Linked DNA regions of Homo sapiens: region 1 is linked to region 2. Evidence: promoter capture Hi-C in 16 types of primary human blood cells and fetal thymus (Javierre and others, 2016). All regions are on one chromosome and are shown on one strand. The core of a region is centred on a gene start or on the middle of the fragment in contact, and the rest is flanking DNA. Distances in the headings are between cores, read along the strand shown. Region 1 overlaps LINC02235 (long intergenic non-protein coding RNA 2235). Region 2 holds the start of HEY1 (hes related family bHLH transcription factor with YRPW motif 1).

Region 1 (5,619 bases), core at 1,473-3,972, 2.1 Mb before region 2:
GCAGGCTCTTTTTTGGTTCCATATGAACTTTAGAGTAGTTTTTTCCAATTCTGTGAAGAAAGACATTGGTAGCTTGATGGAAATGGCATTGAATCTATAAATTACCTTGGGCAATATGGCCATTTTCATGACATTGATTCTTCCTATCCATGAGCATGGAATGCTCTTCCATTTGTTTGTGTCCTCTTTCATTTTGTTGAGCAGTGGTTTGTAGTTCTCCTTGAAGAGGTCCTTCACATCCCTTGTAAGTTGGATTCCTAGGTATTTTATTCTCTTTCTAGCAATTGTGAATGGGAGTTCACTCATGATTTGATTCTCTGTTTGTCTATCATTGGTATATAGGAATGCTTATGATTTTTGTACATTGATTTTGCATCCTGAAACTTTGCTGAAGTTGCTTATCAGCTTAAGAAGATTTCGGGCTGAGACTATGGGGTTTTTCTAAATATACAATCATGTCATCTGCAAACAGGGACAATTTGACTTCCTCTTTTCCCAATTTAATACCTTTTCTTTCTCTCTCTTACCTGATTGCCCTGGCCAGAATTTCCAACACTATGTTGAATAGGAGTGGTGAGAGAGAGCATCCTTGTCTTGTGCCAGTTTTCAAAGGGAATGCTTCAGTTTTTGCCCATTCAGTATGATATTGGCTGTGGGTTTGTCATAAATAGCTCTTATTATTTTGAGATACATCCCCATCAATACCTAGTTTATTAAGAGTGTTTAGCATGAAGGGCTGTTGAATTTTGTCAAATGCTTTTTCTGCATCTATTGAGATAATCATGTGGCTTTAGTCATTGCTTCTGTTTATATGATGGATTATGTTTATTGATTTGCATATGTTGAACCAGCCTTGCATCCCAGGGATGAAGCTGACTTGATTGTGGTAGATAAGCTTTTTGATGTGCTGCTGGATTCTGTTTGCCAATATTTTATTGAGGATTTTTGCATTGATGTTCATCAGGGATATTGGTCTCATTTTTCAACTGCCACAGAGAAGGAGAGGTCGTAAAGAGAGTAGCCTCTGATATCCAGTCAGCATGAATAAACCTTAGGTTCCCTGCTTCCAGACCCTATTTTCCTGCCTCATATTCCCCCTGAGAGATGTGATTCCCATAAATCTTTATGGGAAGCAGAGGGATTGATGGTCTTTCTTCTGTAGCTGCTTCATGCTAACTTGGGGTGCAATCCCTACCTATTGCTGATCATGGAAATTTTTCCCTGCTCTATCCAGTGGAGGCAGGGTAGTTTATTGATCGCTGGGGGTGCTATCTTCATTTGGAACTGGCTGGCAATGTTGTTGCATGATCATATGAAGCTCAATGGTCTCTAGGTGAGAGGAAATGAATTTGGTTAAAAGATCTAATGGGAACTTCAGGGGGTGGATACCTATGCTATCAGGAATGTTTGTTATAGGGAGAAATTAAAACATTCTGCTTAATTGCTACAAAGGGAGTGATTCCAAACATTTGAAAAAAGAAAAACTGCAAAAATATATAAAAATATGGCTATTATTATCCAGCCAAATATATAAAAATATGGCTATTATTATCCAACCTACAATAACTATGCAACAAAAACACCAAGGAAAGTTGGTAGGCATTTACTTATCTTTTGGCTGTCTTCTAAACAGGCACTTCAGGTCTTCCACAGGTTCACAGGTGTAGTGGCTGAAGGAAACTTCAGGTTCCAGGTCTGAGGCTTCAGGTATCACAGACTTGATCCTTGAAAGATGTATCCAATTATTTAAATCCTAATACTTTGACCATGGAAAGCATGGCCAGCACCACTGAAAATGTTCCCTTCCATTTGGGCTGTAGTTGTTGAGCAGGCGATCCCTCCTTCCAAGTTTTAACAAGTATCTTATCTCTTGGCCTGATTTTGGGATGCTGGTTAGCTCCTGGTATGGGGAACCTTTGAGTTCCAAACTTTTGTGAAAGCCTGCTGAAATTGTCCATTAACTAGGTATTTCACTAAACCAGCTGTTTCTGGATCAGTAATTAGATCATTAGTTAAGAATGGCCTTCCGTATAACATTTCATATGGGTTTATGTTAATTTTTGCTCTAGAGGTATTGCAGATCCTTAAGAGGGCTATAGTCAGTAAGCTGACCCAAATTTCTGATGTTTCCTAACATAGCTTACCTAATGCTTGTTCTAGAGTTTGGTTAACCCTTTCTACTTTCCCGAAGAATTGAGTCCTCCATGCTGAATGTAAATAGTATTTGATTCTGAAGGTCTTAGCGACCCCTTTAGTTATTTGGGAGATAAAGGATGGGCCATTATCTCTTTGGAGACTCTGAGGTTACCCAAACTAAGGGACTATTTATTTGTAAGAGAAACTTTATAACCTCAATAGCCTTCTCTGTTCTGGTAGGATAAGCTTCGACCCAACCAGTAAAGGTATCTATCAGGACTAACAAAAACTTGTATCCTCTACAAGCGGGCATTTGGGTGAAGTCTAATTGACAGTGTTCCCCTGGGTAAGTTCCTCTCCTCTGGACTGATTCTATTAGAGGAAGCATTTTGTTTCCTGGACTGTTAAGTGCACACAGTGAGCAGGATTGACAGACCTGCTTAACCACTGAATCTAAGTTAGGCCCAATGAAGAGCCTGTTAACCATGGCCAGGGTGGCATCTCCACTGGGCTGTTTGAGGGAGATTTAGTTTGATTCCATATACCACCCGGATACTTATTTTTGTCCCCCTTGTTCCTTTATTAACTGTTCTTCCTATAGCGTGTATTCAGGATCCATTCAGGAATCATAGAAAGGAAGCAGTGCTAGGATCTGTTGGGATTGCACCCTGAGGGATACGGCTTTAGCTTCTCTATCAGCCCTTCTGTTCCCTTGTGCTATAGGAAGTAAGTCCCTTTGATGCCCCCTACAATGGATTATAGCTACAGCCTTTGGCAGGTGTATTGCTTCCAACAGCTGAAGAATTTCAGGCCCGTGCTTTATTGGGGAGTATTTGCTATTTAGTAGTCCCTTTTCTTTCCAGATTGTAGCATGAGCATGAAACATAAGGAACGCATATTTAGAATCTGGATAGATGTTAAGCTTTTTCCTTTGTCTCAACATTAGTGCTCAGGTAAGAACAATGATTTCAGTATTTTGTGCTGATGTGCCAGGGGGCAGTGGCTGGGCTTCAATAATGGTGTTGTGATTTACCATTGCATATCCAACTCAGCACTCCCCATTTGACACAAAACTACTGCCATCTGTGAACCAGTTATCTTCAGAATCTGGGAGAGGCTAATCTTTTAAATTAGGCCAGCTAATATATGTGTGTACAATGACCTGCTCACAGGAATCATCAGTTATTGGGCCTGTGGGTAGCAATGAAGCTGGATTCAAGGTGTTACAAGTTTTAAGGGTTACATCTGGATTGTCTAGCAGCATGGCCTGGCATATGTTTAACCTTTCCTCCATCATCCACATGTGTCCTTTTATCTCTAAGACTGGCTTTACCTGATGGGGGGTTAGAACTTCCAGTGGTTGGCCCAGGGTGATTTTAGTGGCTTCCTCCACAAACATAGCAGTGGCTATTGCCTGCAGGAAACTTGGTCATCTCGAGGCTGCTCCATCCAACTTCCTTGAAAAGCAGGCAGTTGGTCTGGGTTCTGATCCTAATTTCTAGGCTAGCACTCCCACAGCTACGCCCTTCTCAGCTACATACAAGAAGGGCTTAGTTATGTCTGGGATGCCAAGAGCAGGAGCCTGGTAAGGGCCTATTTTAGCTTGGTGAAGGCTTCTCATTTCTGGGGTCAATTCCGTTAGCTCATTTTCAGGCCTCCTTGTTGCTTCATATACGAGCTTTGCTACAAGCCCCAAATTTGGTACCAATATTCTGCAAAACCCAGCCATTCCCCAGAAAGAACAAAGCTGCGCTTGGTGGCTGTGGGGCAACCACATATGGCTTGCACTCATTCTGGGGATATTTGTCGGGTTCCCGGTGTTAAGACATACCCTAAATATTGGATCCATTGGAGGGTAATCTGAGCCTTCTTTTTGGACACTTCACATCCTCTGTCAGCCAGGAAATTCAACGTTTTTATAGTATTTTGGTCAGAAGCCTCCTGGGTTGGGCTACACACAAGAAGTTCAACCACATACTGGAATATACTTCCATTCTCCAATTGCAGATCCCTCAGATCCCTCTCTACAGATCAGGCTAAGAAATCAGGGCTATCCTGAAAGCCCTGAGGGAGTACTGTCCAAATGTATTGTTTTTTTTTTTTCTGGTATTAGGATTTTCCCATTCAAAGGCAAAAAGGTATTGGGATTCTGGGGCCAGAGGAATAGAGATGAAAGCATCTTTTAGGTCTAGGAGAAACATTTTGCATCCCCTGGCACCTAAGCCAGGAGGGTATATGGATCCACCACCAATGGGTGGACGGGGATAACAGTGTGATAAATTATTCTGAAATCCTGTACTAGCAGGTATTCCCTCAAGGGCTTTAGAATGGTTAAGATGGGGGTGTTTCAGGGAGAATTGCAGGTTTTTAAGAGCTCATGGGTAAGCAATATCTCAACTATGGATGCCAGGCCTTTTCTTGCTTCCAGCTTAAATGGGTATTGTTTTCAATTGGGGCAATAGCTGGGGTCTTTAAACTGGTATTTTGACTGGCACTGCTGTTTTAGCTTTCCCTGGTGATATGGTTTGGCTGTGTCTCCACCCAAATCTCATCTTGAATTCCCACATGTTATAGGAGACACCCAGTGGGAGGTAATTGAATCATAGGGGAAGGTCTTTCCCTTGCTGTTCTCATGATCATGAACAAGCCTCACAAGATCTGAGAGTTTTATAAGAGGGAGTTTGCCTGCACAACCTCTCTCTTTGCCTACTACCATCCACGTAGGATGTGACTTGCTCCTCCCTTGCCTTCCACCATGATTGGAGGCCTCCCCAGCTATATGGAACTGCAAGTCCATTAAATTTCTTTCTTTTGTAAATCATCCAGTCTCGAGTTTGTCCTTATCAGCAGTGTGAAAATGGACTAATACACCTGGCTTCCCAGCATAACATGCTAGCAGGTTAACCTGTTTATTAATGTGGTCTGGGATATTGTCTGTATTTTTGACTATTAGCAATTTTACTGGGTAATGCTTAAATTTGTAGTAGTGCCCCTATTTTAATGATAATATCGCTTCCCAACAGGTGGACAAGGCAGCTTGGAACTACTAAAGATTTATGTTGGAACATTTGTTTCTCAAACTGACAAAGGAGAAGTAAAGAATCTCGTTTGTGGCTTTCCTTCCATTCCCGGAACACTCTTAGACTGGGAGGAAAGTTTTCCTGCATAAGCAGTAAGGACAGAGTAATTCGCCCCTGTATTGGAAAAAAAAAACTGAATTTGGGTACCCATGACATCTAGTTACCCAGGGCTCTGCAATAGTAATTATGATGTTCCTGGACAGGGGCAGTGAGGAAGACTCTAGGCCCCTTCAGTCTTCATCTAATTCCTCCTTTCACACTGCTAGACTTTTGCCTAACTGAGCCCCTTGGTGGGAGCGGGTGCAGTCAATCCTCTAGTGCCAGAGACCCCTCTTAGTACATTAGACGTCTCTGACCTTAGATTGGTGCCACCACCACTTTGGAATGATTCCAACCACCACTG
Region 2 (5,856 bases), core at 1,368-3,867:
GATGCCAATGTAGAGTTAAGCATCCCTAACCCCACCCGGTCTCGTCTCACTCAACATCTGCAGCTTGTCCACGCCTCTCCACAGCAGCAGAAATGAGCCAAAGCAGGAAAGGCTGACTCATTGTAGGTGCCAGAGGCTGGGAAAATCTATAGAGCCAGAGGGGAAGTAGACACGTTGGTTCTGGGGAAGGGTGGCCTGTCACTTTGGGGAAAGAAATGGAAGGTCAGAGGGACTTCTGGAAGGCAGAGGGGAGCAGGTGGGATGGTTTCCTATGCCTGGACCATCAGTTTCTGGGAGGGAAGAGGCAGGAAGTAGTGATGGATGCCCTGGACTGAAGACTGGGAGGGCCAGGAAGGAGCCTTAAAATTTGCACTTCCAGAGAGAAAGTCGGCTGGTGGGATTGACCTCGGACTGACAACTAACAGGCAGCATGCGGTGGAGTTTCAGGAAGCCAGAGGTCTGGGGTGCCAGCAGCAACAAACCCAGGCTGGCTGATGGAAGGGCCCAGCCTAGACAGGGAAGCAGAGGGGCTGCATGGAAAGGCTCAGGGCTGGAGGTGATGTGAAGTGGAATAAGCTTCAGTGGGAGCCAGGAGGTTGTATTTCCCGTTGGGGGCGGTGGTGGAGGGATGGGGGTGCCCAGAGAGGAACTATGGATTAGGCCCAGGCCGGCCACTCAGAGTGCTTGGCATCCAGGATGTGTTAAGATGGCATTGAGGCCGAGCGCGGTGGCTTAGGCCTGTAATCCCAGTACTTTGGGAGGCCAAGGCAGGCGGATCACCTTTGGTCAGGAGTTTGAGACAAGCCTGGCCAACATGGTGAAACCTCGTTTCTACTAAAAATACCAAAAACAATTAGCTGAGCATGGTGGCGCGCGTCTGTAATCCCAGCTTCTGGGGAGGCCGAGGCAGGAGAATTGCTTCAACCCGGGAGGCGGAGGTTGCAGTGAGCCGAGATCGCGCCACTGCACTCCAGCCTGGGCGACAGAGTGAGACACCATCTCAAAAAAAAAATAGCATTGAGATCAATAAGGAAGTCTAGAAACCAGGAAGCTTTTTGCAAAGAGAAAACGCCTTTTGTTATTCTCACCGATGGATATTAAGCTTTCCCTCACAGACAGGACTACAAGCTTCAGAGTGGATCTGAGATGAATGCGAATTGCTGTGTACCTTTGTAAGGGACAGAAGACCGGATTTTCAAATTTAAAACAACCATTCTGTTTCTGGAATCAGAAATCAGTTTCGAGATTTACAACTGTATTTTTTAAAAAATCTGTCTTCTTAGTGGACTCGGGGGGGACTTCACGTGGCACCCAGTACACGCCACGCCAAGCCACCGAAGCCAGAGGTGTGTGTCTGGGGCCAGAGACGTGCATTCCCTCAGCAAGGCCGGCCTCAGACGCAAACGCCAGCACCGCCACCCTGTCGCCCGCTGAGAGGATCTGGCCGCCGGGGGGAGGGGGCGGGGGGGGGGGCAGCGGGGGAACAACAAAAAAATCCCAGCATAATGATTATTCCCAGGGACCGTTGGGTTTTTTTTTCCCCAAGGCGGCCGAAAAAACAAGTGCTCCCCTTCCCCGGAAATGAGATGCACAGGGGTATTCATTCCATTCCGCGGCTGGGAAGCCCCTGCGGAAACGAGTCTGGCTGCATGTGCGGCCTCGGTCCCAGAAATCAAAAAGAGCGTCCCCTGAGCCCACAGCTTGCTCCTCCATGTGACCGGCCCCTGGGCTGGTGGCCACTGTGGACGCGCCCGGCGCCCCCTCTCCCGGCTCCCTGCGGGTTCCGCGGAGCCGCCGGCGCGCAGCCCGGCCAGGTGCACCCGGCACGGCCCCACTAACAGCGCGCGCCTCCAGCCGCCGGGCACTGGCGGCCACGCGGGCGAGATTTACGGTGGCGCTAGGCGGCGGCTTCCGAGGCCGGCCGGCGCCCAGGCTCCGATTACAGGTTCACACTGGGGGCCCGGCCGGCGGCCGCCCAGCCCCCGCCGGCGCGCCCTCGCGCGGCCCGGCTCCCCGCCTGCCCATTCTTCTCCATTCATGCGGACGCCCAGCGCCGCCGCCGCCGCCGCCAGCGCGGCCGCCGCCGTCGCCGTCGCCGGCCGCCCGGATTGGCTGGCGGCCGCGGCGCCGGCACTTTCCCACGGCCCGCGGCGCGTGCGGCTCACCGGAGGCGCTGCAGGCTCGGCCCTGGCGCGCGGCCAGGCCAATCGGGGCGCGCGGGGCGGGGAGGAGCCGCGGCCGCCGGCGGGCTTGTGTCCCGGCCCGGCCTCCCGCGCCTCCCCGCCGCCCGCGCCTCCTCCTTCCCCTGAGTGCAGGCTGGACAGAGCCCCCGCGGAGCCGACGCACCGCCGCCGGGCAGGGGCGGGCGCGGAGGGCGGGGGCGCGGTCCGCTAGAGCCCTCGGCCTCGCTCCCGCCCCTCCCCGGAGCGGCTGCCAATCAGCGGCGCGAGAAACCGGATTGGCCGGGGGGCGGCTGTTGCCCTGGAGTTGCCGCCCCGCCTCTCCGCCCCCTCGCCCGCCTTCCCCACTCCCCCGCCCTCCCCAGGGCCCTGGGAAGGGGCTCAGCGTGGGAAAGGATGGTTGAGTTTTAACCAGAGGCAAAGCGTGAGCGGGATCAGTGTGTGCGGAACGCAAGCAGCCGAGAGCGGAGAGGCGCCGCTGTAGTTAACTCCTCCCTGCCCGCCGCGCCGACCCTCCCCAGGAACCCCCAGGGAGCCAGCATGAAGCGAGCTCACCCCGAGTACAGCTCCTCGGACAGCGAGCTGGACGAGACCATCGAGGTGGAGAAGGAGAGTGCGGACGAGAATGGGTGAGCTGGCGGCGGCGGAGCGGAGCCGAGCCAGAGCGGGAGGCGAGCGCAGGCCTGCCGCGGTGACAGCGGGCTAGGACCCTTGGCGCGCCGGTGCCCTGCGCTGACCTCCGCGCGTCGCAGGCTGGCGGCAGCCTGCGGCCAGGGAACCCCTAGGTGCCTTCCAGCCCAAGTGGCAAAAAAAGTCTGAGTGCGGGGAGGGTGTGGGGGCGACCTCTCAGATCACCTCTCCTCGTTTAACGGCGATTTCAGTTTTTGTTTGTTCTTTTTCTCTTTTCAGAAACTTGAGTTCGGCTCTAGGTTCCATGTCCCCAACTACATCTTCCCAGATTTTGGCCAGAAAAAGACGGAGAGGAGTGAGTCTCTTTACACTCTCCTTTTATTTTTGTTATTGATTAACGGAAATAACCACCTTTTTTTTTGTCTTTGAAATTTACAGTCGTAATGGTAATGCCTTCCTTTGTTTTGCTTGCCTTCTGCAGATAATTGAGAAGCGCCGACGAGACCGGATCAATAACAGTTTGTCTGAGCTGAGAAGGCTGGTACCCAGTGCTTTTGAGAAGCAGGTAATGGAGCAAGTAGGTAAAGCTCTCAGCATAGCTATCTGCACCTTCTGAATCTTCCCCTCATTAATCTCATCCGCCTTGGAAAATAGCTGTGTTGCTTGTGCCTAGATGAATTCGTACACAGATACCAGCGTATTTTGTGAAGACAACTGATTTTGCTTTAGTCCATGCTTTACGATTTACAAAGCATGTATCTTTGTATATATGTTTGCATATTTTAAATTGTTCCCCAAAGGAACTTGTGCCAAATCAATCTTTTGCCATTCTCATCTTTAGGGATCTGCTAAGCTAGAAAAAGCCGAGATCCTGCAGATGACCGTGGATCACCTGAAAATGCTGCATACGGCAGGAGGGAAAGGTACATCTCCTAGACCTAGTGGGGGCTCTGAATGGTTGGCAAAGAGTGAGCAGCGGCTGAAGGCCAGGATTGGTGCAGTAGCTGCCTGATTTTTCTTTGGGGGTGGGGAGAGAACGGTGTGTGGTGTGTGCAGTTCCCTGTCAGTACATTTTCGAATGCACATAGAATCTTCTCCAGTGAATTCACCACCCCAGCTCTCTGCGGATTGAGCTAGTGCATCTTTTGGAAAAATACCTATTATTTGTGAGGTCTTCAAAAGTTGTGACAGCCCTGATTCAGATCAGGTAGCTTTCACATTTGTCCATTGCTATTTTGAGAAAAAGCATTTAAAAACAATATGTGGTCTTATTTTTGGTATACGGGATTTTAAAAAAAAGGTGCTGCCACATGCCTCTTGAGGAAAGAAATGTATTCTGGTTAAGTAAAGGAAACCTAACGGGAGACCAAGGTCTGTGTGTATGTCTCTCCAGCAGGAAAATGCTTTACTGAGGTCCAAGTGCCTAAAAGCTCCGCGATGATAACTTACATCTGTGTGTCTAATGAATTTCACTGCTCTGTGGTTTCTCTGCCCTTGATGTATTTTTTGTTGTTGTTGAGGGAAAACATTAAAGGAATGAACATAGTTTCATCTGCTGGTAGGGTATAATTCCAATTTCTGCTCTGCAGCTTCTAATTGGGCTTTGAACTTGCATTAGCAAACACATTCTGCTTATGTTGATTAATGCAAAGATTTTTGTTGATTCCAAAGACTTTCGGAAGAACCCCTGACTGTTGTGTTTTAAGGGATGCAGGTATCTGCCAGGAAGGGCTGTCTCTGGGACTTAAGAAATGAGGGAAACGGGCAAAGCCCTGAGATTTTTCTTTTGTTCTTTTGCTTAGGTTACTTTGACGCGCACGCCCTTGCTATGGACTATCGGAGTTTGGGATTTCGGGAATGCCTGGCAGAAGTTGCGCGTTATCTGAGCATCATTGAAGGACTAGATGCCTCTGACCCGCTTCGAGTTCGACTGGTTTCGCATCTCAACAACTACGCTTCCCAGCGGGAAGCCGCGAGCGGCGCCCACGCGGGCCTCGGACACATTCCCTGGGGGACCGTCTTCGGACATCACCCGCACATCGCGCACCCGCTGTTGCTGCCCCAGAACGGCCACGGGAACGCGGGCACCACGGCCTCACCCACGGAACCGCACCACCAGGGCAGGCTGGGCTCGGCACATCCGGAGGCGCCTGCTTTGCGAGCGCCCCCTAGCGGCAGCCTCGGACCGGTGCTCCCTGTGGTCACCTCCGCCTCCAAACTGTCGCCGCCTCTGCTCTCCTCAGTGGCCTCCCTGTCGGCCTTCCCCTTCTCTTTCGGCTCCTTCCACTTACTGTCTCCCAATGCACTGAGCCCTTCAGCACCCACGCAGGCTGCAAACCTTGGCAAGCCCTATAGACCTTGGGGGACGGAGATCGGAGCTTTTTAAAGAACTGATGTAGAATGAGGGAGGGGAAAGTTTAAAATCCCAGCTGGGCTGGACTGTTGCCAACATCACCTTAAAGTCGTCAGTAAAAGTAAAAAGGAAAAAGGTACACTTTCAGATAATTTTTTTTTTAAAGACTAAAGGTTTGTTGGTTTACTTTTATCTTTTTTAATGTTTTTTTCATCATGTCATGTATTAGCAGTTTTTAAAAACTAGTTGTTAAATTTTGTTCAAGACATTAAATTGAAATAGTGAGTATAAGCCAACACTTTGTGATAGGTTTGTACTGTGCCTAATTTACTTTGTAAACCAGAATGATTCCGTTTTTGCCTCAAAATTTGGGGAATCTTAACATTTAGTATTTTTGGTCTGTTTTTCTCCTTGTATAGTTATGGTCTGTTTTTAGAATTAATTTTCCAAACCACTATGCTTAATGTTAACATGATTCTGTTTGTTAATATTTTGACAGATTAAGGTGTTGTATAAATAATATTCTTTTGGGGGGAGGGGAACTATATTGAATTTTATATTTCTGAGCAAAGCGTTGACAAATCAGATGATCAGCTTTATCCAAGAAAGAAGACTAGTAAATTGTCTGCCTCCTATAGCAGAAAGGTGAATGTACAAACTGTTGGTGGCCCTGAATCCATCTGACCAGCTGCT

Evidence for each region. Contacts are between HindIII fragments. The CHiCAGO score rates a contact against its expected background, and 5 or more counts as called.
Region 1: a fragment that was not itself captured here is called in contact with the fragment with the promoter of HEY1 in region 2 in 1 of 17 cell types (total CD8 T cells); the score reaches 5.3 in total CD8 T cells.

What each region holds. Positions count from the first base shown.
Region 1 is chr8:81,845,096-81,850,714 of GRCh38, reverse strand. LINC02235 (long intergenic non-protein coding RNA 2235) reads right to left here. Exons shown (of 8, transcript NR_170320.1): 3 at 1,608-1,724; 4 at 1,196-1,329. Among named protein-coding and RNA genes, the nearest start is that of LINC02235, 5.3 kb to the right of the region's middle. The HindIII fragment of the contact is 676 bases long and covers 2,385-3,060 here.
Region 2 is chr8:79,764,528-79,770,383 of GRCh38, reverse strand. It overlaps HEY1 (hes related family bHLH transcription factor with YRPW motif 1), which reads left to right and starts at 2,617. Exons shown (of 5, transcript NM_012258.4): 1 at 2,617-2,809; 2 at 3,090-3,165; 3 at 3,292-3,375; 4 at 3,652-3,733; 5 at 4,613-5,856. The coding sequence starts at 2,721. The coding sequence ends at 5,196. LINC01607 (long intergenic non-protein coding RNA 1607) reads right to left here and starts at 2,242. Exons shown (of 4, transcript NR_125410.1): 1 at 2,166-2,242. LOC101927040 (a long non-coding RNA gene) reads left to right here. Exons shown (of 6, transcript NR_110954.1): 6 at 1-1,012. RefSeq lists silencers at 1,445-1,614, 1,715-2,074, 2,115-2,594 and enhancers at 3,045-3,094, 4,681-4,920. The HindIII fragment of the contact is 6,216 bases long and covers 1,131-5,856 here.